Regions from separate parts of the Homo sapiens genome. Here all the other regions are linked to region 1. The links are contacts of gene promoters, found by promoter capture Hi-C in human tissues and cell types (Jung and others, 2019). All regions are on one chromosome and are shown on one strand. The core of a region is centred on a gene start or on the middle of the fragment in contact, and the rest is flanking DNA. Distances in the headings are between cores, read along the strand shown. Region 1 holds the start of ZNFX1 (zinc finger NFX1-type containing 1). Region 2 overlaps RNF114 (ring finger protein 114). Region 3 overlaps SLC9A8 (solute carrier family 9 member A8). Region 4 holds the start of MIR12122 (microRNA 12122). Region 5 overlaps SLC9A8 (solute carrier family 9 member A8).

What was found. The method cuts DNA at HindIII sites, captures the fragments that hold promoters and counts their contacts. A contact is called where the count stands out against the background at its distance.
Region 2: a contact is called between a fragment that was not itself captured here and the fragment with the promoter of ZNFX1 in region 1, in 1 of the 25 tissues and cell types used here (dorsolateral prefrontal cortex).
Region 3: a contact is called between a fragment that was not itself captured here and the fragment with the promoter of ZNFX1 in region 1, in 1 of the 25 tissues and cell types used here (aorta).
Region 4: a contact is called between a fragment that was not itself captured here and the fragment with the promoter of ZNFX1 in region 1, in 1 of the 25 tissues and cell types used here (dorsolateral prefrontal cortex).
Region 5: a fragment that was not itself captured here is called in contact with the fragment with the promoter of ZNFX1 in region 1 in 1 of the 25 tissues and cell types used here (small bowel).

Annotation. Positions count from the first base shown.
Region 1 is chr20:49,274,005-49,280,271 of GRCh38, reverse strand. It overlaps ZNFX1 (zinc finger NFX1-type containing 1), which reads left to right and starts at 2,215. Exons shown (of 14, transcript NM_021035.3): 1 at 2,215-2,251; 2 at 4,385-4,493. The coding sequence starts at 4,433. ZFAS1 (ZNFX1 antisense RNA 1) reads right to left here and starts at 2,094. Exons shown (of 4, transcript NR_036658.2): 1 at 1,556-2,094; 2 at 1,064-1,168. It overlaps SNORD12C (small nucleolar RNA, C/D box 12C), which reads right to left and starts at 1,327; the gene lies at 1,249-1,327. RefSeq lists enhancers at 1,511-1,710, 1,586-1,880, 1,638-2,138, 2,139-2,639, 2,981-3,040 and silencers at 1,801-2,160, 2,211-2,440. The HindIII fragment of the contact is 7,798 bases long and covers 647-6,267 here.
Region 2 is chr20:49,947,529-49,953,795 of GRCh38, reverse strand. RNF114 (ring finger protein 114) reads right to left here. Exons shown (of 6, transcript NM_018683.4): 5 at 4,441-4,548; 6 at 1-1,720. The coding sequence ends at 1,655. Among named protein-coding and RNA genes, the nearest start is that of RNF114, 14 kb to the right of the region's middle. The HindIII fragment of the contact is 6,868 bases long and covers 1-6,042 here.
Region 3 is chr20:49,877,840-49,884,106 of GRCh38, reverse strand. It overlaps SLC9A8 (solute carrier family 9 member A8), which reads right to left. Exons shown (of 16, transcript NM_015266.3): 12 at 6,044-6,126; 13 at 3,072-3,183; 14 at 41-261. Among named protein-coding and RNA genes, the nearest start is that of MIR12122, 17 kb to the right of the region's middle. The HindIII fragment of the contact is 5,664 bases long and covers 435-6,098 here.
Region 4 is chr20:49,860,418-49,866,684 of GRCh38, reverse strand. It overlaps SLC9A8 (solute carrier family 9 member A8), which reads right to left. Exons shown (of 16, transcript NM_015266.3): 9 at 3,618-3,756; 10 at 1,841-1,946. It overlaps MIR12122 (microRNA 12122), which reads right to left and starts at 2,826; the gene lies at 2,732-2,826. The HindIII fragment of the contact is 4,214 bases long and covers 481-4,694 here.
Region 5 is chr20:49,844,260-49,850,526 of GRCh38, reverse strand. SLC9A8 (solute carrier family 9 member A8) reads right to left here. Exons shown (of 16, transcript NM_015266.3): 5 at 5,408-5,491; 6 at 847-948. Among named protein-coding and RNA genes, the nearest start is that of MIR12122, 16 kb to the left of the region's middle. The HindIII fragment of the contact is 4,181 bases long and covers 439-4,619 here.

The DNA of each region.
Region 1 (6,267 bases), core at 966-3,465:
GATTTGGTTGGTATGCTTCATATTTGCAAATTTGCATTCGGTGTTTGAGCACTTCTGTGTTGTATCCTGTAGCTGGCAATAACTTGGTAGCCAAACCAAACACCCCTGTCTTCAGTGCTTACACTCTGAGTACAGGCCCATGATAGAAGCCAGTGTGGCTGGAAGAGTTGAGGAAGTAGTTGGCATTTACTGAGTTGGGAAGTGAACAAGTACCAAGAGATTGCATTTTAACACAAGTTACCACAAGTTACCTGACAAAAGAACAATCTGGAACAATAAGCTTCACATGTGTTCCCATGAAGCCCAGACTTTGTAAACGCCTCACTCCTGGACTCTAGCAAAAATATTAGTTATGTAGTCGGGCACTGGTTTGAGTGGCTAGTTCAACAGAAAAACACATTTGGCTTTCCAAAATATGTCAATAAATCATCCCTCCACTTGGAAATTTAAGCGCCCCAACACACAGGAAGAATGGAATCCAAAAATATGTTTAAGTGGCATTAAAATGTTAAACGCCTCTTCACTAACAAGGTTCTTTCACTTCAGGCATTTCTCTTAAACCTGTTTCTTCACCAGAAACCTAGTTCCAATATTTGAACTGTGAGAATAAAACATTCAGAACATGTTTTTCTTTTTTTTTTTTTTTTGAGACGGAGTCTGGCTCTGTTGCCCCGACTGTAGGGCAGTGGCGCAATCTCAACTCACTACAACCTCCGCCGCCCGGGTTCGGGCAATTCTCCTGCCTCAGCCTTGTGAGTTGCTGGGATTACAGGCGCGTACCACCACGCCCAGCTAATTTCTGTATTTTTAATAGAGTCAGGGTTTCACCATGTTGGCCAGGCTGGTCTCCAAATCTTGACCTCAGGTGACCCATCTGCCTTGGCCTCCCCAAGTGCTGGGGTTACAGGCGTCAGCCACAGCGCCCGGCCGTCAGAACACTTTTTTAAATACCTAATAAATGCTCGATAGAAAGTGCTTTGTTAAATCCCACGTTTTCCTAGAAAACTAAAGCTTCTCAAAGCACGTGTTTTCTACAGTAGACCCATAGGAGACAAAGACTTACTCGTCAGGAGATCGAAGGTTGTAGATGTCTGCACGTGGCTTCCTTGGAGGTCCAGTGGTGACTCCCTCTTCCAAAATCCATTCTGTACCCGCTGGCTGCTCTAACCTGTGAACCAACAAATAAAGGGCGTTAACCGCCATCTTCCCACGGTCAGAAACGAACAAGGCCGGGCCTTTTGAGGCCGATGTATCAGAACTAACTGGCAAAATATAAGACGTCAGCATTGTCGATCTGATGGGGAAAAAAGTGAAGTCATCATTTACACCAGCCAAGGGCTTCTCAGGCCCGTGCAGAAGGCAGTGGCTTTTCCAGCTCCAGAAACTCATTTCTCCCACGCCCTTAAGGCCTATTTGGGGTCAGAGACGGAGAAGCCACGAGAAGGAGATTAGGGCTGGCCGCAGAGACGACGGCACAAAGAAGGGAAGGGAGGACCAGAGGTCTCCAACGAAGAACATGGAGTTTCCACTCACCACACACAAAACGGGAACTTACGGGCAGGACAATAGCGTATGAAGCCTGACTGCAACTAGGAGAAGTACCACACTCCGGGCACCGCAGACGCGAAAGAACGAATGGCTTCCTGAACCTCCCTTATATAACCAAAGATGGCTTTCGCACCTGCGCACTGGACCCGAAACGCTCTCTTTCCCGCCCGCTCCGCGCGCGTCGCTCTGGGAAATGTAGTCTCGAGCAGCACAGCCCGAGGCGCTCTAGTAGTTGTCCAGGCCGCGTCTAGCCCCGCCCCCTTCCCTCTACACGCCGGGCCACCCGGGCTTGTCCGCTTCCTCGCCATGTCGCGCTTCACACGCACCAAACCGCTCGACGGGTTCCCCTTCCTCTGGGGCCGGCTGAGGCCCGCAAAGGCCTTGGGCGCAGTCATCTCCCGCCCCCCGCGGTCCGCTCCCCTCAGCCGCGCCCGCCTGAGCCCGCCGGCTCCGCCGCCGGGGGGAGCTGAGGTGACGCCCTCCTCGAGGGCGGAGGCGCCGGCCGTGCCTGGGCCAGGCCCTCGTGCTCTCCACCCTGGGCCCCCGCCTCCTCCTTCTCCTCCTCTGGGCCGCCCGCCCGGCTCCGCCCAGGGTCTGCGGGGAACGGAAACCGAAAGTGCGCGGCGCCGGGCGGGGCCACCGACCTGCCTGGGCCGAAGCCCCAGCACTCGCCGGCGGCAGTGAAAGGACGCGCCGGAGCCGGGTGAGTGGCCCCGCAACTGCCCCTGCCCCTGATTCTTCCTTGCCTCGCCGCGAACCCCGGCGCCCGCGCCGACCCGCCACTGCCTCTGCCCGTAAGACCTGTCACCCTCTCAAGCCCCCAACGCACCCGTCACCCGCTCAGAGCCCCTGGCCCCTCAGCGCCCCGTCGCCCCCTCAATCCCCAGACCCCCATCACCCACTCAGAGCCTTGTCACCTCTTTGGCCCCCAGCGGCATCAGCACCCACTCAGAGCGCCTCTCAGCGCCCCGTCTCCCCCTCAGACCCCAGACCTCCATCGCCTACTCAGCGCCCCGTCACCCACTCAGCCCCTGGCCCATCTCAGCGCCCCGTCGCCCCTTCGGCTCCCCTGTACTCTCTTTAGTGTCCCCATCCCCTCAGCTGGCCCGTCGCTCTCCCCAGCACCCCCGACACCGTCACCGCTTCTGCCCTCAGCACTTCGATCTCCTCTGCCCCTACCCCTGTCTGTGCCCTCCCTTCTGCCACTCGCACCCCCCTCATTCCTCCGGCCTCACCTCCTGTCACCTTATCAATCCCCCTCTTCTACAGAGCACCTCGGCACCCCCTTCAGCCTGCTCCCTGCCCCCACCCCGCCGCCTCCGTCCTCAGCAAGCACCCCCTGGTGCTCGCTACCACCCTCTCCCCAAGGCCCCCATAACCCCGCCACCTCACAGCCTTGGCGCTCCCTGACCCCATAACATTTCCATTAGGGACCGTGGGCTCCCTGGGTCAGGGATTCCCCAGGACCCTGGAGACTTCCCCCAAACCCAGCTCTGCCTCCGACCTCAGCCTCCTGCGTCCCACTCTGGTGATGACTAGCCCCTCTCATTCTGACTCCAGGCCAGCTTGATCATCACTGATTTTCTTCTTCGTGCCCTTTAGGCCTTGATTCCCCCCACCAAAAAAAAACACTTCAGTCTGTTTTCGATCCCAGCATTTCCTGTTCATGTCTACTCCTCCCTTCCTTCCCTTGCCTTTTTTTTAACATCTTTTTTTCTTTTCTTCCGTTTCTTTTAAATTTTCTGGAGTTTCTATTTTAGCATTTTTCAACAAGGGGAAGAAGGAATTTTCCCCTCGGAGAATTGAAAATAAACAAACAAACTCTAAATACTGAGCCTGCGCCAGGAGGGCTGGGTTTGATAAGATGAGGGAGGGGACTCACCAGAGATATTCCCAGGGGGAAGAAAAGAGACTCCTTTTTCAGATGAGGAAAAAAGCTGCCCCTCATATAATGCCAAATGTAGTCACAGTTTCCAATTATGAATATTTTAGAACTCAGTGAAGACAGTCTCAAAAATCCCTTTGCTGAGGACTCTGAGTCACCCACTCTTTCCTTAGCCCCAGCCCACACCATGTGTATGAGTTGGGTTGAGAAGCTCCCTTAAAGGGGCTTCCTCTTCCTCTTACAGGACCAGTGTCAAAAATCACCAAGGTAGAAGAATGAGGAGGAAGAAAGAATATCAGATTTCTAGCTGGTCCTGAGGAAACAGCACCTCGTAGTTGCCAAACCTCCTGGTTATTGAAACATGTAATTTCTTTCTCTTGATTCAGTAGAGCAGAGAGCTTAATCATTTGGCTCCATTCCAAAGAGTAGGCTAAGGGGATAACTGCTCACTAATTATTTATAAACTGTAGGGTACTGCAAGCTATTGGGTACTATATAAGTGGCAGATATGTAAATGCCAGATAAGGTGGTGAGCACATGGTTTTGGATTAACAAAAATGTACTCCTTTTTGTCCTGGCAACAATATTGTCTGCTTCTTAGGAAAGGAAAATGAAACCTAGCAACTGATTAAGTAACTTGGCTAAAGGCATAAACCAAACAGCAGTTTTGAATGGGAATTGATGACATTCCCTCTACCCCAAGAAAGTGCCAGGGTAAAAGAAAGGGGAATTCTATCTCTTGAAATCAGCTAAATTGTGAATTTAATATTTTATATCATAATTGGGCATTTGCAGAGTCGAGCACTTGTGCTCTAGATTAAAATCTGTATTTAACCCTTAGTTAACAAATCATTAAAATGTTAACAAAGGCAGAAGGACTGGCTTGATGGTGTTTGGGTTTTTGCTGCTAGATGCTATGTTTCGAGGACACTGATAACTCAACATGTGCAGTTTTCCAGATAACAGAAAGTAACGTGAAGGAATTCAGGTGACTCAGACATGGAGGAGAGAAGACCTCATCTGGATGCCAGGCCCAGGAATTCCCATACCAACCACAGAGGTAAGCAAGGTTTCCTACCTAATGAGAAGGAAATTCTAGTAATAAAAGAAGGAAATAGGGCTCTCTATAAATGAGCAGGCCTACCTAAGATTGTCTGCATCTCTCAAGTAAAGAATGACTATGGCTGGATGCAGTGGCTCAAGCCTATAATCCTAGCATTTTGGGAGCCTGAGGCGGGAGGATTGTTTACGCCCAGGGGATTGAGACCAGCCTGGGCAACATGGCAATAGGCTTTCTCTACAAAAAAATATATAAATTAGCCGGGCTTGGTGCTGCGTGCCTGTAGTCCCAGCTACTTAGGCTACTTGGGAGGCTGAAGTGGGAGGATCCCTTGAACCTCAGGAAGGGGTGGGTGTAGAAGGCAGAGGTTGCTCTGGACTGTGATCTGGCCTCTGCACTCCAGCCTGGGTGACAGAAAGACCTTGTCTCAAAAAAAAAAAGAATGAGTTATTTCTTAATTACTTCATGAATTACTCTGAAAAACAGCCAACCCTCCACTTTTCCTAAGAGAGCTGATGAATGGGTGCAGTTCACTTTAACAAAAACAGTGATAGAGTTTCAGAAAGGGAAATGACGTTTGGTGTAGAGCAGCATCCAATAGAAACAATGTAAGCCAAGAGCATAAGTTTTTATTTTTTATTTTATTTTTTTTTTTTGAGACAGAGTCTCGCTCTTTCGCCCAGGCTGGAGTGCAGTGGCGCGATCTCTGCTCACTGCAAGCTCCGCCTCCCGGGTTCACGCCATTCTCCTGCCTCAGCCTCCCAAGTAGCTGGGATTACAGGTGCCCACCACCACGCCCGGCTAATTTTTTTGTATTTTCAGTAGAGACGGGGTTTCACCGTGTTAGCCAGGATGGTCTTGATCTCCTGACCTCGTGATCCGCCTGCCTCGGCCTCCCAAAGTGCTGGGATTACAGGCGTGAGCCACCACGCCCGGCCTAGTTTTTATTTTCTAGAAACATCATTTTAAAACGTAAGAAGAAACAGATGAAATTTATTTATGTATTTATTTATTTATTTTGAGACGGAGTCTCGCTCTGTTGCCCAGGCTGGAGTGCAGTGGTGCGATCTCGGTTCACTGCAACCTCCACCTCCCAGGTTCAAGCGATTCTCCTGCCTCAGCCTCCCAAGTAGCTGGGATTACAGGTGCCTGCCACCATGCCCAGCTAATTTTCGTGTTTTTAGTAGAGACAGGGTTTCACTATGTTGGACCAGAATGGTCTCAAACTCCTAACCTCAGGTGATCCACCCACCTTGGCCTCCCAAAGTGCTAGCATTACAGGCGTGAGCCACTGTGCCTGGCCTTGAAATTTATTTTTTCAATTTGATGACAATTTAATAAAATTTAGGAATTTAATAATGTCTTATTTAACCCAGTATAACCAAAATGTTATTTGATTATAATAATTGACTATAGTTTATTATCATACTTTAATAATTCACATATATTTATTTCCCTCAAATACTCATTTTAAGATATTATCAACATAAAAATTTTTAATGTAATGCTTAACAGTCTTTGGTACTAGCTTTCAAAATCTCGTGTGTTTTACACGTCTTAATTCAAAGTAGTTACATTTCACAAACATAGCAGCCACATGTGGCTAATGGCTTTGTATTGGATAGTGCAGATCGTGAATCCTAGTCACCAAAGCTAAATTAGTTCCAAGACCATCACTCTACTAAAGGAATTATTCTGCTTGCTCAGCACTTTCTAAAACTAAACAACCAAATGGATTCCTGCTTTTCCATAAGTTTGAAATGTGTCTTCCAAA
Region 2 (6,267 bases), core at 1,359-3,858, 670 kb before region 1:
ATACAAGAAGTGCACTTAATACAAGGAAGTAAGTTTCTCGGTGCCACCAGTGAGGTGGACATACACTCACATCAGTCCCTCAAACGAAGGTTTCGCCAGATTTCCCTCCAGACTTCTGAGATGATCTGAATTCAGGAAGGTCTGAGTGAACTTCTTCCAGAAATTACAGTGAACAAGCTGACCTTAACTTTTGGGTCCTCCCGAGAAATACTAATGAAAAAACTATTTTTTTCCAGTGGGCCCTGTGTTTGCTGGCTTCTCGGCATCTGCAGCTCTTCACCGGCAGGCGCGGAGCCCCACAGCAGCAGTGTACAAGCGCGAGGTAGCACTTGCAGCCCCATCAGAGACATATGACATCAAAAAACCAACCTAAACCCATATGCCTTTTGGTCAATCAGAGGTTCTGCTCCTACAGATTAGGCTGACAGCTCTTGGACTTATATTTATTAATATTTGTGAAATATGAACTCCAAGGTTCTTGAGCTGTTCCTAAAGCAAGTTTCCAGCAACAGCTTTTATTAACAACTGTTCATCTTGCGATGTGCTGTGCCTTATGAACGATGTCTCGTCAGAACAGACCAGGGGTGGTACTGGGTTTCCTATAGCTTCTCTCTGCATCTACAAAGCAGGTTTTCAAACACATTTTACATGTCGAAACCAGTGTCATAAGGAAAACATTTGTGACAGAAAAACAATGCTCAGTTTAATCTAAGTTACCAAGCAGAAGGTAAAAGAACTAGTATCCGCTGAGTCCCCAAACCTCTTTCTTCTAATTCATCTGAGGATTTTTTGTGCTTCTAGAACAAGAATGTAGGCAGGCTCCCAAATGGAGAGGTAAACATGACCGCGTTGTTTGAAACTACTTCATTAATTTGTAAATCAGAACCAAAAAGCTCTGGCCCTCCCACTTCTCTTAGCTGACCCTCCTCCCCACTTACGGATAAACAGACTTTAACTTCCCTAACCCAGAAACACTTCCACCAAAAATGTATGGTTATACCTTATCCTAAAAAGGCACCATGCAGGCATTTAAGACTGAACCAGTGAACTCTAAATATGTAGTAGTAGAAAATATCACTAATCAAAACTTCCAGCATCAGATGGTACAAAACCCCAAGAGGACTGGTGACATGTACCCCGGGATGGCAACCCCAGCTTCTGGCAACCCCACAGCCCAGCGGGAGCTTCAGCTCTGGTCAGGTGCACGGCTGCCAAAGTCTGCACACCTTGGGGACAAGGAAAGGAGACACTTGCTTCATTGTGCTATTCATGACCCAGAAAAGGTCCTGGCTGGCTTGAAGGACCCGAGAGACAAACACTGGATGGGAGGAATGAGTGTGAAACAAGAGGTGGAGAAGCTAGATTATCTTCCACAGGAGGCGGCAGAAGCTCCAGGAAGTAGCCGAGAACCAATACGAACTCGACCGTGTGACAAACAAGGTTAACAGTAGGGGAAGACAGCTTTGGCAAGAGCCCAAAGGGAAGAGAAGGGCTGACCTGGGGACCCACTTCCCCTGTCAGAAGTGACCCTGTCCCAATGCCATGGCTCATTTTCAGGTCTGTTGAACAGGTAAGGTACAGGAGTCATAGATTTCACGTTTAATATGTAATGGAAGCTCTGTAACATGAGACAGATAGCAAGCACGGACTCTGCTCACTGGTCGATGATGGAGCGCTGCAACACCTGATTCATCATGTCCTCTTCATCAACATCATAATCCTAAGGGCAAAAAGAGACATGCAGCCTCAGCAACTGTTTCTAGATGCAAAGACTGGCTTTCAGTAGAAGCAGGACAGCCTAGCAACTGGATCCGGAGCAGGTTGCCAGGGACCGGATCCCCAGTGCAACTGTTTGTGATGCTAGGTATGTAACTTTGGGAAAATTAATCTGTCTCTGCTGCCTTCTCTTTTTTTTTATTTGATGGAGTCTCGCTCTGTTGCCAGGCTGGAGTGCAGTGGCACAGTCTTGGCTCACTGCAACCTCTGCCTCCCAGGTTCAAGTGATTCTCCTGCCTCAGCCTCCCGAGTAGCTGGGACTAACAGGCGTGCGCCACCATGCCCAGCTAATTTTTATGTTTTTAGTAGAGACAGGGTTTCACCATGTTGGCCAGGATGGTCTCAATCTCTTGACCTCGTGATCCACCCGCCTTGGCCTCCCAAAGTGCTGAGATTACAGGCATGAGCCACTGCACCCAGTCTGCTGCCTGATTCTTAAATGAAGTTAAGGATGCCTCCCTTAAATGGAGATTGAGAAACCCAGACAGCACACGAATGGAGGCTGGCACAGACCAAGTGCTCAGAACATTTGTAAGTCTGTCGGAACAGAGCACGCAGATGCACTGAGCTGAAGAGTTGTTTCTGAGAGGTGGAATCAGTGCACAGTACAGAATCAGATTTTTAGAGCCATACAATACAGCAGAAACTATAGCGCAACTAGCCCTCTTTAATGAGTCATTTTTAGGACTCATTTTTAATGAGTCATTTTTGTTAATGTGACACAGATGAATGTAATTCATCTGTGTCACATTAACAAAAAGGGCAGTTATTCTGAAGTCTGAGTTTCAGACACTGTCAGACTGAGAAAAAATATTCTTTATGACAATTTAGCAGAGAGCTTTCTTTCTTAGATACTGAAATTCAGCCATCAAGACCGAATACCACTCTAAAATCCTAACTTGACATCTATATATGTAAGTAAGAGGTTTACTTGATATAGTTGGCCAAAGTTACCTACTACTATAATGGCAAGACAACAGTGTGCCCCTTTGAAACCATCCAGCTCTAGGGAAAGAATATAAACCTGACAGCCGTATTTGGCTAGTGGATATATGCTATTTGACCTGAAGTATTTTTGAAGATAATTAAAACCTGTGAAACCTCCTGTGAAATTTTCCTGTCCTGCTTGGGCATGGGGGGTGGAGAAGCTAGGCAATGCTGCGCCTGCATTTCCATAGGAAAACAAGGTGATGGCAGCATAACGAGTCAGGCACCACCTGGCTTGGAAATCCTCAGGAGGATCATTTCAATTATGGTCCCCATGGACATGCGAGATTGAGCCTCCCAAGTCCAAATTGTTGTTGTGTGTGTGTGTTTTGTTTTTTTTTTTTTTTTTTGAGACAGGGTCTCATTCTGTTGCCCAGGCTGGAGTGCAGTGGCATGATCTCAGCTTGCTGCAACCTCCGTCTCTTGGGCTCAAGAGATCCTCCTGTCCCAGCTCCCTCAAAGTAGCTAGGACTACAGGTAGGAGCCACCACACCTGGTTACTTTTTGTATTTTTTGCAGAGACAAGGTTTTCCCATGTTGCCCAGGCTGGTCTCGAACTCCTGAGCTCAAGCGATCCACCTGCCTCAGCCTCCCAAAAATGCTAGGATTGTAGGTATGAACCACTGCACCGCACCTGTCCCCAAACCAAGTTCTATAACAGGCAGAAATTATATAAACCACAAGAAAAGTAGACAAAAATTTGGTGGCAGGGCTAGGAGATGGAAAGAGCAAGTATCACTGTCTCTGTCTCAAAGACTGACCAGATCATCTTCTTGTTTGTTTTGAGACAGTCTTGCTCTGTTGCCCAGGCTGGAGTGCAGTGGCACGATATTGGCTCACTGCAACCTTGCCTCCCAGGTTCAAGCGATTCTCCTGCCTCAGCCTCCCAAGTAGCTAGGATTACAGGTGCCCACCACCACACCTGGCTAATTTTTTTGTATTTTTAGTAAAGACGGGATTTCACTATGTTGGCTAGGCTGGTCTCGAACCCCCGACCTCAGGATCCGCCCACCTCGGCCTCCCAAAGTGCTGGGATTACAGGTGTGAGCCACTGCGCCCAGCCCAGATCATCTTCTTAAATGTCACTCTGGGCCGGGCGTGGTGGCTCACGCCTGTAATCCCAACACTTTGGGAGGCCAAGGTGGGCAGATCACGAGGTCAGGAGTTCGAGACCAGCCTGGCCAACATAGTGAAAGCCTGTCTCTACTGAAAGTACAAAAAGTAATGGGGCATGGTGGCATGCGCCTGTAGTCCCAGCTACTCAGGAGGCTGAGGCAGGAGAATCACTTGAACCCGGGAGGTGGAGGCTGCAGTGAGCTGAGATCACGCCACTGCATTCCAGCCTGGGCGACAGAGCAAGACTCCATCTCATGTAAGTAAATAAATGTCACTCTGGCCACCTGCCTGGCCCATGAATAGAAACTGTATAGTAGCTACAGTATACAGACTGGAAGCCCATCTAGCTCCCCAGCTACAGCTGCCTGCCCGCCTCTTCCACTCAGTCTTCTTTTCTCTCTTGTCAATCCCCTTTATCACTGTATCCAGTATACAGACTGGAAGCCCATCACAACAGCGACAAAGTTCAACACTGGGGATCCCCATTTCCCCTTTTGAGAAGAGTGAAGTAGCCGTGCCACTCCCCCAGGGGAGGGATCAGAGCCCAGGCTCCAGACTTACCACAAAAGTGTCATAAGAAAACCGGTGCCGGCGCTGGATGTGCTCTCTGAAGTTGGCGCTGCGGTAGTTGGGGTCTCCCCAGGGCATCGAGGCACATATCGGACAAACCTTTCAACACAAAAGCAAGGTCTTAGGCACCCAATTTCCAAGCTTGCACCAGCCCTCTGTGGCCTGTGTCTGGCCTCCTTTCTTCCAGGACAGCTTTCCTGACATACTGTCCAGGGCCAGTAACTCCTTCCTGTGCACATCAGCAGCCCAAAAAAACACTGCAAATTTCCAGCTCAAGTCAAATGACACGTGGGACTGGGTAAAGTTCAAATCATGATACCACCCTTTCTCATTCCCTACTGTAAGCAGAGAAGTGAGTCAGCCTGGTGGGGGGCCTAGACTGGCCTTCCAATCCAGCACACAAGACAATCCAAAAGCATGAGGAAAACTAAGAAAATAAGCCGATGAGCAATGTCCCAGGGAAGTAAAACACAGCCTTACATGCATCTTAACAAAGGAAATGCTCAGAAGAGGGGGATCAGGCTGAAAAGCCCTCACACAAAAGGTTGATTTGGTTTTTGAAGATTGGGAAGTATTTGGAAAGGCAAAGAGGACATGAAAGAGTGCTCCAGGCCGGGCACAGTGGCTCACACTTGTAATCCCAGCACTTTGGGAGGCCAAAGCGGTAGATCACCTGAGGTCAGGAGTTTGAGACCAGCCTGGCCAACATAGTGAAACATCTTCTCTACTAAAAATACAAAAATTAGCCTTGCATGGTGGCACACGCCTGTAGTCCCAGCTACCTGAGAGGCTGAGGCATGAGAATCGCTTGAACCCTGGAAGTGGAGGTTGCAGTGAGCCAAGATTGTGCCACTGCACTCCAGCCTCCAGCCTGGGTGACAGAGTGAGACTCTGTCTTAAAAAAAAAAAAAAAAAAATTGTGCTCCAGAAGAGAGGCAGCAGCACGGAGAAAAGGCCAGAAGGCGGCAGTTACTGTCAACACATGTAAACAACCAGACCAGTGAGTGCAGAAAACTCATGCCAGGGAGAGAGAAGACCTAAGTGCCCCCACTTAAAGGTGGAACCCTACCCCACAGCAAGGAAGATACAGTGATAAAGGGGATTGACAAGAGAGAAATCTGGAATGGTAGAAGACTGAGTGGAAAAGGTGGGCAGGCAGCTGTAGCTGGGGAGCTAGAACATAGGGTGGGACTAGAGACTGAAAAGGAGATGGCTTCTAAAGGGAAGGGAGAAACGCAGAGTTAAGAACTTGCAGAGGGCCGGGCGCGGTGGCTCACGCCTGTAATCCCAGCACTTTGGGAGGCCGAGACGGGCGGATCACGAGGTCAGGAGATCGAGACCATCCTGGCTAACACGGTGAAACCCCGTCTCTACCATAAATACAAAAATTAGCCGGGCATGGTGGCGCGCACCTGTAGTCCCAGCTACACGGGAGGCTGAGGCAGGAGAATGGCGTGAACCCGGGAGGCGGAGCTTGCAGTGAGTCGAGATCGCGCCACTGCACTCCAGCCTGGGCGACAGAGCGAAACTCCGCCTCAAAAAAAAAAAAAAAAAAAAAAAAAAAAAAAAAAAAAAAACTTGCAGAGGGAGAGGAAGACAGAACAGAGGGCCAAAGGCTGAAGAGAAGGCCTCAACATAGACAACATAATCAGAGGGATTTCAGAAGCCAAAGGAGGGGAAAAAGACAGAAAATTAGGCTGCCATACCAGAAAAGTTCAGCAATAACAGTATCCAACAAAATTATGAGTGCAAGTAACATTTAACCAAGTCAATCTGTATCTAAGACTTTAGCTTATAAACATACATAGATACAGGCAA
Region 3 (6,267 bases), core at 2,017-4,516, 600 kb before region 1:
CCAGCCCCCTGCCCCACCCCCACAGGCGCATGGTACTAACCATCTTCTCAGTCTTGCTGAGGTTGACGTCCTTCTTGTTCCTGCGGTGTGCCTTGGCGTCCTCGATGTCCATGAGGCGAATGAGGGGCATGGTGCTGCCGCCCAGCAGCAGGATGGTGAAGAGCACGATGACGATGGTGGTGGTGCCGATGAGCTGCCGCTTCTCCATGGGCTCCAGGTCCAGGTGTAGGCTCAGGGCATAGGGGATGGCTCCCCGCAGGCCTGGGTGACAGCAAACAGTGTGAGAGGACACAGTGAAGAGGCAGCAGCTTCATGGGCTGGCTTCCCTGGAAATCCAGCCGGCCCAGCACCACGACCAGCTGACTATTCTAATGGCCCTGCTGAAGAGTGTGTGCTCACCCTGTGAGGCTTTGGGGTGTAAAGAGCAGGTGGCAGAGATGGGACCACAGACTCACCTCCATTCCAACATTGGCAGATCAAATGAGATGGCCTGCCCCAGCTACAGAGCCCCAGATGCGGGTGCGGGAGGACTTAGCAAGCCTGATGCTCGTGTCTTGGAAACTGCAGGACAGCTGCTGTGGGCTGAGCCCTCCCTGTGTGTGCGCCAGGCCTGGGCAGGTGCTCAGTGTGCAGAGCATCACTGGATCTTCACAGGAATCCTCACCGAGCAGCGCTACTCTTGTCCACAACACACAGATGAGGGATGGAGGCCAAGAGCAGCATGGCCCGCCCAGGGCCACTCAACTAATACCCACAACAGCACAAGATGCAATGTGTCCAGTACCCCTCCTATCTCGAGATGCTGTCCCTGTGGAGGCCCCTGGTGGCACTGATGGGGCTGTGGGCTGCTTAGGTGGTAATGACAGGCTGGCTGGTCCTCTGTGACGCTACTAGGGCACAACTGAGGGGCATGGACTGAGCTGGAAAACAGCACATTCCTCTGTTAGAAGTTTCCTGGCTTCCTTGGTGCCATACGGAGGGGACAGGCAGTCCTAGCCCCACCCTTGGGGAGCTCCTAGAGCAGCTGGGAGGAGGCACAGCAAATAAGGGGTGTGAAATGCTACCTGGAAGAGATGGTGGGGGGAGGGGGGTGGGGGGTGGGGGGGGGCATGGTGCAGACAGCACCAGGACCTTCCCCAGACAGGAAAGCGGGGAGGCTCACATCACCATGGGGTAGGGCAGCCAGGCTGCTGCAGGCCAGACCCAGATGGGGAGACGGCAGGGCAAGAGCAAAGGGCACATAATACAGAGACATGGTGAGGACAAGGGACTCTCAGCCTCTCTAAACCTGTCACGGGCCAGAGGATTCAGTGACACGGGACATGTAATGTGCTTTAACAGGGTGTGTACCCAGCAAGTGCTTAGTACCGGCTAGCCAGGCCACCGGGCAATTCAAAGTAGGATTTCTTGGGCAAGGGGGATGCAAAGGCATAGGGATGACAGCATCCCCACGGCATCCAAACAGGCAGCTGGAAACAGGAGTACGGATCCCAGAGGGAGGTCTGGGTTCGCGGGAACAGCTTTGGGACTAGGTGGAAGTGAAGGCCAGTGGACGGGTGAGCGCACTCAGTGAAGTGCAGAACACGTGAACAGAAGTGGGGCTGGGGCCAAGTCCTGAAGAAGCCACTATTTGAGGGGTCAGCGAAGGGGGACGAGCCCAAGGAGACGTCAAAGGAGAGAAAGGAGGAGCATGGCCCAGAGGCCGGGGAAGAGAGTGAAGTGGTCCTCGCCAGAAGGTAGGGGCAGTGGGAAGGAGGTAGGCTAGGACGGGGGCGGACGCCTCCCCTCCAGGTCTGGCTGCGGGAGGTCACTGGTGACCTGCCAAGGCCAATTCCAGCCCCGTGGACAGGCGGTGAAGAAGTGGAGAAAATGAGCGAGCACGGCTCACTCGCAAGGGTCTGGCCATGGCAAAAGAGGTGCGGACACAGCTGCGGGGGACATGAGGAGGAACTCTGGCTGAAGTTGCTGGTGTTTTGTGGGAAGGAGGAGAAGCTCTGATTGCTTAAATGATGATGGGAGGGGCCGGTAGCAGAGGCTTGTTCAGTGCCCCTCGTTGAGGATCCAGGAAAGCCTGGATGGAAACCCACAGAGCAAGAGCCCGGGGAGCCTGGGAGAGAACAGGAGCCGACAGCCCCCGCCATTTCAAATACACTCCAACCTTCCCCATAACGCTCTCTTATCCTCATGCCCCCCTTCCCAAATAGCCCACATCACTTCAAAAACCTCTGACACACTTCTGCAACCATTTACAAAGTAGTTTGCCTCACTGGCAAAAGAGATTAGGAAAAAAATGAGTTTTTCTCACCACATATAAATGTATATGTATATATACACATACGTACATATATATGAAACATATACATTTTTAAACATGGCCTTTTGAAAGAAGAGAAATCTGAGACAAACTTGCAGATATGCCTTTGGATAGAGAACATTATAGTGTGTTGCTATAACCCAACCCACACGGAAAATACTTTGATTATAATATTTAAGCAAGAAAGCATAAAGAACAGTATGTATTGCTCAAAAATAAATTTAAGGATGCCTATGGATCCAGTTCTTTAGAAGCAAAGATGTATGAAATCATTTCCGTCCTTTAAAAAGTGATTAAATAGCAACTGAAACATTCAAATTAAACTACTAGAACTTTGTGACTAAAAGGAAAAATATCCAAAACTAACATAAGGTATGAAACAGTTTCAACTTTCACCTTTTCTACCTTGAGACCATTATTACTTCAGCCTAGAAGACCCCCAGGGAGGCGCTGAAGCACGCCCAGCTGCATCCCGGACTGCACTATGGTGTTCAGAAGAGAGTGGCAGAAATCCCGGCTCTGCCTCCAGTGGTCACGTGACCCTGGGCATGTTGTTTGCCCTCTTCCAACCAAGCCTCACCCACTTCATAGCACCATGGTGAGGGGCACCATCTTGATTGCAGTGGGTGCCATTAAACGGGAGTATTGATTACTTGTGGTTTTGCCAAGGGCGCTAGCAGAGAACCACAGCTCTCCCTGTATGGGGCGTGCTTTTAACAGGTACTTCCCCACCCCATTTATCCAAGATTTGACTTACCACTAAACCACATGATGAACATCATCTTCGGTGTGATTTTATGATCCCGGAAGAAATTCAGGAGGTAGGAAAGAGGGAAAATGTTTACCGCTCTGCCAAATAGTACAAGCACCTGTTGATAGCAACAAACTAAGTCTTAGGTGAAAACATCTGGCTCTTCAAGCTGAAGCTTCTTGGATGAAGCTAATGCAGACTGTGTAACACATCCAGTACAAATGCAGTATTCCCCTCAGCCACAAAAGACACGAGCAACACCATGCTCGTCAGAGACCCAGCATGGGCGTGCTGCCACAGCTGCGGGATTCTATGCATCTAGGAAAGGATAAAGCTTTGTACGTTACCTTTCTTAGTAGCCAGAAAAGAGAGGACGGACGAGGTATCAGGAAGGGCTTTAGTAATGACAGCAGAACAAAACTGAATGCCAAGAGGCTGTACAGAAGTATTCACAGATTAGTTTAAGGGCAACCTGACTCCCAAGGTGCCCCTCCTTGGGACAGGGCTGCATTGATCATACCAGGACTAGGGGGACAGACAAGGTGTTTCTGCCTCTCCCTCAGGGAAAGGAGGGCAGCTATGAAGGACCTCCCATGCATGGAAACACTGCTCTCTGAGCAAGAGGAACGCAGAGGTAGGGACTATCAGGAGGCCACATGCCCCGGCTTAGCCTGCCAGCTGCTTGCTGTGGCTTTTGGTTCCTCTCCATCTCCAAAGGCATGTTAGTCTTGGCAAAGTACAGCTTTATGTAAAGTTTACATCTTTTTTTTTTTTTTTTGAGACAAAGTCTCACTCTGTCTCGCATGCTGGAGTGCAGTGGTGTGATTGTGGCTCAATGCAACCTCAACCTCCTGGGCTCCAGTGATCCTCCCACCTTAACCTCCCAAGTAGCTAGAACTACAGGTATGCACCACCATGCCTGGCTACTTTTTAAAATTTTTTAGTTAAAGATGAGGTCTTGCTATGTTGCCCAGGCTGGTCTCAAACTCCTGGTCTCAAGCAATCCTCCTGCCTTTGCCTCCCAAAGTGCTAGGATTACAGGTGTGAGCCACTGCACCCAGCCTAAAGTTTAAATCTTATCTAAGTGGATTCTTAGGACATTTATTACTTTACTTTCATTTTCTTCATCTTGGTTCTCACCATAACTACTTGAAAAGGATGATATAGACATGTACAGTACATTCTTTAGGCTTTAAGTTTATTCCTTTAACAAGCATGAATTTGAGAGTTTTTTTTTTTTTTGAGATGGAGTGCTGTGGCGTGATCTTGGCTCACTGCAACCTCTGCCTCCCGGGTTCAAGCAATTGTCCTGCCTCAGCCTCCCTAGTAGCTGGGATTACAGGCGTGTGCTACCATGCCCGGCTAATTTTTGTATTTTTAGTAGAGACGGGGTTTCGCCAAGTTGGCCAGGCTGGTCTCAAACTGCTGACCTCAAGTGATCCACCCGCCTCAGCCTCCCAAAGTGCTGGGATTATAGGCGTGAGCCACCATGCCTGGCCAAGAGTAAATGTTTCCAATCATCAAACATTTCTATGCCAGACAACATGCTAATCATTTTACATGCATTATCCTGCTAAATTTAAATCCTTGCAAAGGTCTTACAAAGTAGGTATTGTTGTCTCCAGTTTATAGACAAGGAAACTGAGGTATAGAGAGATGAAGTAATTGGTCCAAGTTGACAAGGCAGGAAGTAATGGATCCAAGTCTCAAATCTGGTTCAGACCCCAAAGCCCATGCTCTTGACCACTAAATTGAGTTTACAGGGCAGGAACTGTAACCCACCTGAATAGGCCATCTCCACTAGCTGCAGGGCCAGCCTGGGCCTAACTGCTTAGAGAAAACTGAGTTGTCACCCCAGGGCATCCTTTCATTTTCCTCCCAACCTGTGGCTGAAATAGTCACCTCCCTGTTTCACCCACTGAAATCCAATCTTCCATGCCTACACTTGTTTCAGGTTTGATCAAATGTGTCCCTTTTCCCCAGTGGCCACACTAAAGGCTATTATACTTTTTTTTTTTGAGATGGACTTTCGCTCTTTTTGCCCAGGCTGGGGTGCAAATGGCATGATCTCAGCTCACTGCACTGCAACCTCCGCCTCCCGGGTTCAAGCGATTCTCCTGCCTCAGCCTCCTGAGTAGCTGGAATTACAGGCGCATATCACCACGCCCGGCTAATTTTGTATTTTTAGTAGAGATGGGGTTTCACCATGTTTGCCAGGCTGGTCTCAAACTCCTGACCTCATGATCCGCCAGCCTCGGCCTCCCAAAGTGCTGAGATTACAGGTGTGAGCCACCGCGCCCAGCCTAGGCTATTATACTTTCTGTAAAGGACTTTTGCTGCTTCTCTCTTGCCCTGAAACCTGAGTTTGGAGGACAAATAACAGTGACCAAGAGCAATGAGCTCTTGCTGACTGAGAGATGGAAGTACCCAGGTTGCAGGAACAATATCTTATAAACAGACAAATAGACAAATATAAATAGACAAATTTGAAGAAAACTGCAGTAAGAAGTACATAATAAATTATCCAGAAAAAGCAGAAAAGAGAAAGAAATCCCAACTCTATGACCACTGTGAACATGTGGCTATATTTTCTTTACATATTTTCTTTTTTCTGTGCATAATATTTTTACATGGTTATGATCAATTACATATTCAATTTTGAAATCTGCTTTTACCTCCTCACACAAAAACTTACAAACCTGTACTTTTATTTAAAGACCATAATATTCAAGGCCATTAAAAATCTTAAAAAACAAGCAAAAGTCCTTTCTGGGGATATTTATTCACTTAATTCTACCCCTGCCCCCTTACTGTATGTTTGTGATTTTTTTTTTTTAACAAAAGAAACTTTAAACAAAAGAGTGTCTATGTAGCTGTTGACTTTGAACAGTTAACAGTTACATAAATGAATCCGGAACATGTGTTTATTGATCTACAAATAAGTAATTAAATTTAAAAAAAAAAAGGAAAATACTTACTATGCACCAGATGACAAAGGAAATTTCAAACTTGTGAGGAAAACTAAAAATGGACAGGCCAAGAAATGCAAACACACATGTTTCTGAAACAAACCAAAGAATGGATTATTCAACCCCAATGATTTCATTCCAATATGGTACTAAACTATTAAGCAAGCAAACATTCACAGTCAGAATCCAATACAACACTTTCCTTATTTTCTTGAAAATCCTGCAGCCAATAT
Region 4 (6,267 bases), core at 1,338-3,837, 590 kb before region 1:
CAAAAGCTTACCAAATTTGATGAAAGCTATAAACTCATATAAACTATAAACCCAAAAAACTCAATGAACCCAAGGCGAATATAAAAATAACCACACCAAAGCACATCTAAATGCAGTTGCTACACACCTATCAGGACAGCTAAACTTTTTTAAATTAAAATAAGTGTGGTGGCAATATGAAGCAACTGGCACTCTCTCATACATTCTGAGGAATGTAAAATGATACAGTCACTTCGAAAAACACTAGGCAGTTTCTAAAAAAGTAAAAATGTACTTACCATATGACCTAGCAGCCTTAATCCTAGGTATTTACCCAAGATAAATGAAAACACATGCACACTGTTCTTAGCCCAAATCTGGAAAACCCCAAATGCCCTTCAAATGATGAACAGACAAACTGTGGTGCAATAAGAACGATAAACTACTGCCACACGCAAAAACACGGATGTCTCTCAAAAACGTAACTGAAAGAGAGGAGACACAAAAGACTACGTACCACATGATTTCATTTAAACTACAATGACAGTGCAGGATCAGTGGGTGCCAGGGCTCAGGACAGGCAGGTGGACTGACTGCAGAAGGGCACAGGGGAGCCACACTGGGCGATAAGAATATGCCACACCTCGACTGTGGGGGTAGTTATGACTGTCCACATTTGCAAAAATTCATGGAACTATATACTTAGAACGGGTCCATGTATTGTGTGTAAATTATACCTCAACGAAGTTAATAAAAAAGAAAATCTCTGCCATCTTGTGGCACAGATCAAAACATCCCTGCAATAGTGCCTCCTTTCCAGAACAAGGCCTCTGAAGGGCCTTCACTCAAAGGATGGGATCAGACTTCCAGGGCAGAGCCCTTCCCAACTGGCTGCCCCCTCACACAGGAACAGGGGTGAGTCACGCTCCATTTTCAGGTCAACATCCTTACAACGTAACAAGCTGTGGACGCAAGCTTGACTGCCACTTGTAGGCAGAAAGCCCAACTAAGCCAAGCCTGATTGGGCTGCTGAGTGATTACCAGGTGACGGCTCCAAGATCATTACGCTGTGACTGGCCACCCCTCCTCCAGCTGGTGAGCATCATCTTCTAGGGCCGCATCAGAGTCGTCTCTGCTGCTGAGAGCTGTGTGCCCTCCTCCAATGGGGTGCAGGGAAAAGGCTCTGGGCCTCCACTGTCAATCTCACTACCACCACTGCTTGTGCAGTGCAGCTTTGGGCTAATGACAACCTCTTAGTACCTACTTCACAGGGCTGGTATCAGCATAAAAAAACTGAATACTGGTAAAGTGTGTCCAATAAACGCCCAACATTACGCCACCACCACACTTTGCTTGTCCCTCTATGTAGCACTGAGTACATGGTTTCATGATGATCTGTTTTGGAGGGAGTTGTATTAGAGGGTTCTAAGCACTAGTTCTTGACTCCAAGACAACTAGTTTGAATCGTTGTTCCACCAATCCCAGCTGTGACCTTGAGTAATTTACTTAATCTCACTCAACCTCAGTTTTCTCATCAGTAAAACAGGGACCTTCACAGTACCTCCCTCCTACAAGGCTACCCTCCTCTGAGGGAGCCTCACAGGACTGATGGGCTAAATGAGAGAAGGCGGGTTAAGAGAAAATGTGACCGTGACACCAATGTGACTGTTTGAGCCCCTGGATCCAGGCAGGCCTAAATCCAGATGTGTTTCTAGGGAACCAATAGATTTCCTTTATTACTTAAGCTCTTCTGAGTTGTGACTGTCTCTTGTGACTAAAAGTGACCCAACTGACAAAGCCTCTTTCCCCAGGCAGGACAAGATGCCATCACCACAGCACTTTCAGGCTCTCTGTCACTTACCTGAGAGTGAGATTCCTTCTGCAAGCCCATAAGGCAGATAAGCAAAAATGATCATCATGCCAAACTCCAAGGAAGGCGTTTTCCTCAAGTCAATATGCTTCAGCACGTAAATGACAACTGTCAAGGAAGGAGAATCGAGGGAGAGTTGATGGGAGATGTGGAGAAGTCACAAAACTGCTGCTTTCCAAATATATGAAGTAAACAACAGATATAGATTTTAGAATGTCCCAAGGTTACAAATGGAAATTTGTCATTATGGATTTTTTCCTTTGTAGGGAGACTGTTGCTATAAGAAAGGGAATCTGACAAAACACTAAGAAATGTAAATTCCGGAGATAAATGGTGGTGGAAGATGAAAATCAACCTAAGTCAACTCATTTAAAAACGCTGACTTAGAGGGCTGGGGATGTGCCGGGCCATGGCGCAAAGCTGGGGCTGCAGACACACCAAGGACAGCTCACTTGGCCAGGTTCCTCCCAGGGCCGGCATCACCCCCACTCCTCCAACAACATCGGATGAGATCACTAATGCTACCCATCTTGCTTTCCCCATCAGTTTTGAGTCAAAGACAACTAGTGAGAATCGCTGTTCAAACTGAGGTTCGAGGCCCTGTTGAAGCACAGTATTTCCTATTCCTGGAGATTTCCAAACTCATGCCCCTGTGAAAGGAGAGAGCCTTCTATATATTGAAACATCATTCACAATGCCTATACTGGAGCTCACAGTACCCATTTGCTCCACTTCATTTTGATAGATACTTTTTTTTTTTAAAGAAAAAGATAAATATAGAGGAAAATACTGAACTGGAAAAAATTTTCTTTTCCATTCTGTTTATTGGTACAATATGAGAAGCTGTCAGCCAACTCAATAGAGCCCTTAGACTTCTGGACAAAGGAGTTGATGGGAAAATTCAACAGGATGGCAGAAAAACATGCCTGTAACCAGGCAAAAGAGTCTCTTCCGGCCATCTGTGACACAAACTGCTCGTGGAGGCGGGCCAGGTGGCCATCTCCCTGAGACGTAGGCTTAGGTGCGCACCGAAGTGGTCTACTGCCTGTTACTATTTTAAACATAATGAAATTTCTACAGCAATAAAGGTGACATTGGCCTTAACAAGCCTCTTTCCATCTCCAGCTGGAAAAGCTTATTGGTTGTCAAACAACAAAATCAGTGCAAATAACTCAATGGAACACACTTTGAAAGCCCCTTTTGCAATCCTTCTGGATAAACACTTTCAGTGGGATAAAAATTTTCTCTATTTGGCATTTTATTTTTATTTATGTATTTTTTAGAGATGAGGTCTCACTATATTCCATTGCTAAGGCTGGTCTTGAACTCCTGGGCGAAAGCAATCCTCTGGCCTTAGCCTCTCAAAGTGCTGGGATTACAGGCATGAGCCACTGCACCTGGTCTATTTGACATTTTCAAAGAAAATTAATTTCCAGTTTTCCAAATGTGAAAAGTAAGATGGCAGAAAACGAAAATCATCGGAGTGTGGTTATCATACTCTGGGAACTGAGAGGTCCCCAAAATCACATCTGATATCCAACAGTGTACATGTTTTTTAAACTTTGAAAAGTGACATCCTAAATTTCACGTTAGATTAAAAAATCCTTGAGTTAGAGTGTTTCTCAAACAAAAACTAAGCAAAAAAATCCTCCTTTAAGCAAAATCTTCATCTAAAATTGGCCCCCTTAAAAAACAGGAGAAACTGGCTAGAGACAGAAGTTATCAGGAATAATTTTAACCCTGCATGTTCATCACATTAAAAGGATATTAATGCAGAAATTAAGCCAGTGAGAGTGCCGAGCGCTGCAGAGCCAAAGAACATTTTGAGGAAGTAGTCAAGGGCTTGTAAAAATGTTTGCCACCCACTGACATCTGACATATTTTTTCTTGTTAAACCTTCAGCTGTGCTAGGAAATGAAAGAAAACAGAAATAAATTAAAATGTTATATACACAAAGTTCTTAGAAATTAACTTAAAACATTTCTTGCTTATTCGCTCATTCATTCATTCATTCATACCATCATTCATTCAGTCAGCCAAACGTTTATTGTTCACCTACTTTGTCCCAGGTACTGTTATTTTCTGGGGTTCAGAGATGAGAGCAAAGCTGCTGCCCTTAAGGAGCTCCTCCCCTCAGGCTAATGAGGGAGAAAAACAAGATGAACACTAATGACAATCCGCGGGAGGGGTAGAGGGCTGTAGAAAAGCAGGGTGGGTAGGTAACTAACTCAGACTGGCCGGGCTCAAGGAAGGTGCTTGAGAAAATGTGGGCTGATGCCGGGCGTGGTGGCTCACACCTGTAATCCCAGCACTTTGGGAGGCCGAGGTGAGCAGATCACTTGAGGGCAGGAGTTCAGACCAGCCTGGCCAACATGGTGAAACCCCGTCTCTACTAAAAATACGAAAACTATCTGGGTGTGGTGGTGCACGCCTGTAATCCCAGCTACTCGGGAGGCTGAGGCAGGAGAATCGCTTGAACCCAGGAGGCAGAGGTTGCAGTGGGCCAAGATCGCACAACTACACTCCAGCCTGGGCAACAGAGCAAGACTCTGTCTCAAAAAAATAAAAAATAAAAAAGGCCGGGGGCTGGGTTTAGATTTGGGATAAAGACGACTTGCCCAGGTGAAGAAATGGGGGAAGGCACCCAGTGAGGGAACAGCATGTGCAAAGGAAGAGAGCCCATGCATATGCAACCCATTGTAGGAACTTTCAAGTACCAAGATTAGTGCAGCTAAAACGCAGCGGTGGGGTGGGGGTGGGACAGTGGCAGGAGGCAAGGTGAGAAGAGTGGCAGAGGGACAGGAAAGAGCCCAGGAAAGGTGCTGGTATTTCAGCTTGAAGGCCTGGGGAGTCGATAGGAAGGATTTCAGTACAGAAATCCTGTGATAAAACCTGAAATTGAGGCTATGGCAAGTCAGATTAGAATGGAGCTACCCAAAGAAGAAATGTCCGAGGTTTCAGGCTGAGAGGGAGGATTTAGGAGACATTAAGGAGGAAGAAATGAAAGAAAGAACTTTCCTTTTACTGTAACAGAACAAAGTAAAATGTCAGATGTTATTAAATTCAATTGTTGGTTTTGTCCTTAAAGATAAAACCATTACACCATGAACATCGAGTTATTCTCATTAAATATCCTCCTCGTGTCTCTCAAATCCATTCCCTTCTTCCCTCCCCTACTGCCCTTTACTCCCAGGGATAAGTCTCACTGATCTCCTTCTAGACATCCTTGCCTTCCTACAGACCAACCCCGTTGTCCACTCAGTGGCCTAGATGATCCCCCTCTTTTTGTTTTTGAGACAGGGTCTCACTCTGTCACCCAGGCAGAAGTGCAGTGGCATGATCTCAGCTCACTGCAACCTCTGCTTCCCAGGCTCATGTGATCCTCCCACCTCAGCCCCAGAGTAGCTGAGACCACAAGCATACATCACCACACCCAGTTAGTTTTTGTATTTTCTGTAGAGATGGGATTTCACCATATTGCCCAGGCTGGTCTCGAACTCCTGGGCTCAAGTGATTCGCCTGCCTCAACATCCCAAAGTGCTAGAAATACAGGCCCTAACTGATCCTTTTCAAAGGCACACCTGATCAGGTTACCAGCCTGTTCAGAACTCACAGTTTCCCGACGTTATCAGGAAGCCCAGTCTTAGTTTGACTTGGCTCCTGCCTGCCATACCTCTCTGACCTTACCTCCTCTCCCCAAATCTAAACATCTGGGCCACACTGTCACTGGCACCTCCCAGGTGGTCACCATTCACTTTTCCTTGCCCCAGCTAACTCCCTTATTCATCCCTCAGAACCCAGGGTCAGTGCCACTCCCTCAGGCACACCTGCCCTGATCCCTTCACGCAGGCCTGCCCATTTAAAGGTTGTCATGGTGCTTGACTTCTCCTTCACAGCATGGGAAACTGTCGTGCCTCATTCCATGAGGATGAAGCCTGTGTCCATCTTGTTCGCTGCCTTATGTCCGGGGCTTAAAGCAGAGCCTCCCACACAAAAGACAGTCAATACCTTTTTGTTGACTCAGTAAATGAAACAAAGAATAGTCAACAGTAATATTCAGCTTCATCAATCACCATGTCATGAATCGATATCATTTTATTATTATTATTATTTTTGAGATGGAGTCTCGCTCTGTTGCTCAGGCTGGAGTGCAGTGGTGCGATCTCAGCTCACTGCAACCTCTGTCTCCAGGGTTCAAGCAATTCTCCTGCGTCAGCCTCCCAAGTAGCTGGGACTACAGATGCGCACCACCGTGCCCAGCTAATTTTTTTTTGTATTTTTAGTAGAGACGGGGTTTCACCATGTTAGCCAGGCTGGTATGGAACTCTTACCCTCAAGTGATCCACCTGCCTTGGCCTCCCAAAGTGCTGGGATTACAGACATGAACCACCATGCCAGGCCCCAGGATTGGTATCATT
Region 5 (6,267 bases), core at 1,280-3,779, 570 kb before region 1:
AGCTGCATGACAGACAGATTTATTCTGGTGCCATCAAAGCTGCAATATAGGTGAAAATCCAATGGAATGGGCTTTGGCTATTGAGAGAAGAAAGCAGCTGATGTGTTAAAGAAATCTGCCCGTCACTCAGATACCTGACCCTCAACTTAATTTTCAGAACTGAGACAGGCAAACTTTCTGCAACTGACAATAAAGGAAAAGAATGTGACATGCATGGACATGCATAATACAAAACTACAGATACTACCTTCCTAGGGATGTTTGGTCTAAATTAATTTGAAGTCTAAAGTAGAGACCACCCAACTGGTGCCACTGGGAAGTGGTTTAGCAATTGTGGAAAATCCAGAGTATATAATTCTACAGGTAGACAGCTTAGAATTGAGTGAAGAGATTCAGCATCACCTTTGATTTTATTATTTCTCCAATGCCAGCAGAAAAGCACATCTTTGATTTTTTAAATACAAATTTTTATCAAAAAACAGCATTCAACCCCAATTCAGTCTACTTGACAACACAGTTTGAAGTTCTTGATGGCATATATTTGGCTTCATTTTTAGGTATTCTAATTTAAGACAGTATTGGTTTGCAAATAAACTCAAATACTTTGGGGGGGATTATGGAAAAGTTTTACTCAATTCCAGATACCAAAGGTCTTGGAGGACACTTTGAAACAATTTAGCACGCCTCTACTGTGCCTCATATGAAGCTAGGATTTCCTTCCAGAAGGAATTTACCTTAAGGGTGAAACCCAGGCCCCACAAAGTGGCCCCATTTCACCTTCCCACCTCCCTGCACTAGCTCTAAGAATGTAAGACTTTCAAAGTGTTTCAAAGATGATTTTCTTACCTGACCCAGAAAATAAATTCCTCCACCTACTACAAAAGCGGAGATTGCCGTCCCAAAAACAGCAAACAGGGTGATGGAACCAATATTTTGAAAGAAGTTACCCTGTTTGAAAGAGCAGAAATCAGGGAAATGATTAGAAAAGCCATTCCTGTCAGTGAAGGCACGGCCTGCACACCTGGCCCTCCGTGCAGACTTGATTCTCTGTAAAAGGCACCACTGCCCAACCTGTGTGGCAAGCTGGGAGCCCGGGAGTCTTCCTGCACCCCCGCACTTACTGCAGTGTCCCGTCACTCACACCATCTTTCATCTGAAACACTGCATAGCTTCGCACAAGTCTCCTCAACCCCCCAGGGCCCCTTTCCCTCCACTCTCCCGTCTTTCCAGAATGATCTTCCCAAAAGACAAATCTGATTGTGCTGCCTTCACCTGGACCCCTATTTCCACTTAAAATGCAGCTAGCCCCCACCCTGAATGATTCGACTCCTGGGGAGGCCTCTGGGCTCATCTGGCACCATGCTCGCCTTTGTTCTCTGGGTTCCAGTCCCACTGGTGGCTTCGAGCAGGTTGTGCTCCCTCTTTGCTTGTTAAGCTTTCATCATCCCAAGATCTCAGGACATTTCAACTCTTCCCAGATCCTAGTCTGTGCTCTCAGTGCACAGTCACCCTCTCTTGTAGCGGTTGACAAGACTGCAATTTTGCACTTATTTATGTACTGATGTCTTACTTTCCCATGAGGCTGCAGGCTCATTCTGGGCAATGACCCCACCTGCTTTCGCACAACACGGTCCCTGACATAATGCCCGTCAGATGGAAGATGCCCAACAGACAGGCACTGAAGGAATTAACTGTGTTTCACATCCAAAGTCCACACTATTAGGATACCAAGATACACTATCAGATATTCCTTTTTCCTGGCCAGGTCTTTTAAACAATTTTACTTCACTCTATTAGTATCATCATTAACTATGTCAGATAAAATGTTTCTATCTATACTTCACAGCGTTTAAGATAAAATATTCAAGTTCAAGCAGCATGGTAGCATCTTTCAAATTTCCATAAAATTAAGGAAATTAAGCTATTTATTATAACCCTATGAACTCCACTTAGGAGCTACCAAGAGTCTTTGATCACCCCCGATTGTGGTTGTGAACAAGAATCTTGTTTTTAGCTCAGAAATCACCAAACCATGGACATCAAGACCTGCTATTTTAAAGCCCACTTGTGAAAGAGTGTCCTCAGCTGAACACTGACTGCCCCACTAAGCCCACCTCCTAGAAGCTGCAATTTTGACTTGGCTGCCTATCATCTGACATTCAATTCCTTTGTTTGGCATATCAATCTTTACTGCACAAAGAATTTTAAAACACAATGATTTGGTTTTTCAAAACAAAGGGCTTTCAATCTATGAGTTGCTCTTTGCAAATCGCTGTTTTCTTTTGTTATTTAAAAACAGATTAGACTGGGCTCGGTGGCTCAAACCTGTAATCCCAGCACTTTGGGAGGCCAAGGCGGGTGGATCATCTAAGGTCAGGAGTTCGAGACCAACCTGACCAACATGGAGAAACCCCATCTCTGCTAAAAATACAAAATTAGCTGGTGTGGTTATAGACGCCTGTAATCCCAGCTACTCGGGAGGCTGAGGCAGGAGAATCGCTTGAACCCAGGGGGCCGAGGTTGCAGTGAGCCGAGTTCGCAGTGAGCCGAGTTCGTGCCATTGCACTCCAGCCTGGGCAACAAGAGCAAAACTCCATCTCAAAAAAAAAAAAAAAAAAACAGATTAATCAGTTTTGACCTGTTTGCAGAGATCTAATGTTGATATAATTTATATATTTGGTTAATATTAATCTGGATCCTGAACATTTACCCAAGTTAAAGTTACCATAATACAAGAACTTCCCTCTGCTACATAAAGCAAATTTATCTGTTTCTCTCTGACATAATTAACATCCTGTGATTTGTGTAATATTTGCAATTCAAAGAACCAGTTGCTGCCTAGCTAATGCATATCAACTGATGATAATCTTACTGTAATCTGTATTCTAAATCCAAATTTACATTAGCAGATATCATAATATTAAAATAAAATATTCAAACTTTACTTCCTATCATCTTTGGGCGAGGGTAGAAAGTGGATAGAAGTTTCAGAAGTAGCATTTCATAATCCTATCAGTCCCTTTCATATAAATTGTCACATTTCCTGCTGGAAAGTCATCTTCAACAAAATGTTTCTCTAAAAAACTATTACTTTCCTCAAATTTTGAACAAGTTTCTCTCCCCTCTAAAAAAAAAAAAAAAAAAGAAAAGAAAAACTTTACATGCTCTAATATTCAAAATGTCATGTTTTTAAGTCAAAATCAAGTCAATTTCCTCAGCATGTTTTGAAATATTTTCATATCTGCTTACAGTTAAGATTTGTTTACAAAGTGAAAGGAAAGACATGGTGACCTTCAACTTATGTTTCCTTGTTAAAAATTATCTGATGTCACTAACAGTTTGTAAGACTTGTGAATATTTTTTACATTAAATTTCCTTTTCACTTTTTCTTTGGATAGATGCACAATAAAATAATAACTTAAAAAAAAATCTGGGCTGAACATCTTAATATGCTTTTGTTTTAGTACAGGAAAATTAAAGACTTAATTTCTATGTTTTTACCAAACATTTCTAGACAAATCTAACTCATTTTTTAAAATTATGTATTTATTTATTTTATACCATGTCAACAACAAATTAAGTTTATTTTTATTTATTTATTTTTGAGACAAAGTCTCCCTCTATCACTCAGGCTGGAGTGCAGTGGCGTGATCTCAGCTCACTGCAAGCTCCACCTCCCGAGTTCAAGCTATTCTCATGATTCTCATGCTTCAGCCTCCAGAGTAGCTGGGATTACAGGCACGCACCACCACGACCAGCTAATTTTTGTATGTTTAGTAGAGATGGGGTTTCACCATGTTGGCCAGACTGGTCTTGAACTCCTGGCCTCAAGTGATCCACCCACCTCGGCCTCTCAAAGTGCTGGGATTATAGGCATGAGCCACTGGGCCCGACCATATTAAGCTTAATAAATTATTATTACTACTGGTGGTAATATTGTTATTAATAATAAATGACATTTTTATCATTAATAACAAGCAGCAGCACTTCATTTATTTAGTGTGGTGGGTGGTGCTTTGCCTACGTTCTTTCATCTAGTGTGACTCTCAAAGCACCCTGGGAGGTAGGGTTTTGGGGTTTTTGGTTTCTACTTTACCAAAAAGAAACCTGTAGGGGGCAGCGCATGATTAGATCTGTGTTGTGTCTCTGGCTTTCCTCTCTCCAAGGACTGGCCTAAACTTTCCAATCTTCACAGTTTTTTTAAAAATCACATTCACAAAATAGCTGCTGTATTATTAATACTAGTATTTTAAGTTGAATCACTTTATTTTAAAACTTAAATACATTTATGTTTAAAGAAAACTCACAGACAAGGAAAAAACCATGCACGCACACAAGCAGGCTTAAAAGTGAGAAGCTCCTGCTCAGGCAGAAAGACTCACACTAGGGGACGAGTGTGGTGGCTCATGCCTGTAACCCCAGCACTTTGGGAAGCCAAGGTGGGTGGATCACTTGAGGTCAGGAGTTCGAGACCAGCCTGGCCAACATGGTAAAACCCCGTCCGTCTCTACTAAAACGACAAAAATTAGCCGGGCAAGGTGGCGTGTGCCTGTAATCCCAGCTACTCAGGAGGCTGAGGCAGAAGAATCACTTGAACCCACAAGGTGGAGGTTGCAGTGAGCCGAGATCATGCCACAGGACTCCAGCCTGGGTGACAGAGTGAGACTCCATCTCAAAAAAAACAAAACAAAAAAAAAAACATCTCACACTGGGAGTTGCAAGGCAATGGCCGTCAAGGCCAAGCCAAAGCAGAGAAGTGGGTAGGGGCCAGTGCCACTGCTCACCAAGGCAGGGAGGAAAGAATGGGCAGGCAACTGTGGGACTAGGCAGGGAAGGATGGGGCTCCAGCCTGGGAAGGAGAAGCTGGACCAGGGAGTGGGCGAGGAGCGATAGAGGTTGAGGGATGAAGGGGAATATCAAGCTGGGGTCTGAGGCCAGGGGAGGGCACCGAGAGGGAGACATGGAAGGATGGATGGGCCTGAGAAGGTTAGAAAGGCCCCAGTGGGGGAGCTGAAAGAAACAAAAGTCCTGGGGCACATGTCCCCGTCGTCCCAGGACACAGTCTATCCTCTTTACATCTATCAGTCTGTGTCCAGGAAGACGAGTCAATGCATCATCTGTGAGCCACTTAACATCACTTCAGCCATCTTCCTGGGCAAAGCACCCATTTATGGCAAACACTGGCTCAGTGAGCCATACTGCCTGAAACCATTAAAGCAGCCAATTCATCATGTCTGCTCCTCTCCAGAAGTCAGGCACTGCAGTCCAGCTTCCACTGAGCACAACCAGGAAGGAGCAGAGCTGCTGCTGCTGCTGCTGCTAAATTATACCCAAGCTTTTAAGGAACTTGCCTTACAAACATGAGAAACTGTCCAGACCAAAGCACCAATGTGTGCCTGAGTCTCACCTTGTGTAATGAATATCCAGACTCAAAGATAATAGGGGGAAGCAGGAGGAGGAAAAACATGTTTGGACGAAACATTTCTTCTTCCTGTAAATAGAAAATGAGTATCTTAAGGGCATGGAATTTGTGTAATTAAGAAATAAATTAATCAATAAAGAGCCAAAATAATTATTCTCTCAGGGCCTGGCCTAGTGGAAACATATAATGTTTAAATAACTACCTGATAATAAAATCAAGCAGAATGAGAGATTCCCCCACCAAAAAAAAAAATGAAACTGTATTTTATTATTTTTATCATTATTATTATTATTATTATTTTGAGACAGAGTCTTTCTTGCTCTGTTGTCCAGGCTGAAGTGCAGTGGTGCAATCACAGCTCCCTGTAGCCTCAACCTCCTGGGCTCAAGTGATCCTCTCACTTCAGCCTCCTGAGTAGCTGGGACTACATGTGCGTGCTACCATGCCGGGCTAATTTTTTTTTTTTTTTTTTTTTTTTTTTTTTTAAGATACAGGGTCCCGCTATGTTGCCCAGGCTGGTCTCAAACTCCTAGCCTCAAGCAATCCTCCCACCTCAGCTTCCCCAAATGCTGGGATTACAGGCATGAGCCACCATGCGTGGCCAAGACAAGGATTTTAAAGGTGATCAGTGAAAAGAAACAGCACAACACAGTAGTATGTTTTTTATTCCTTAGTACAGAAAGAAAATTAATCTGAATACAGAAAATTTCAATTCTGGTTGCAGACTTTCAAAAACAACTCCACAAATTGGAATCCTCCAGGAAAAAGGTAATGGCAAGCCCTAAAACAATCCACTCAGAGGAACAGTAAATCCTATATATGGTTAAAATAGCTCTGCCTTCTTT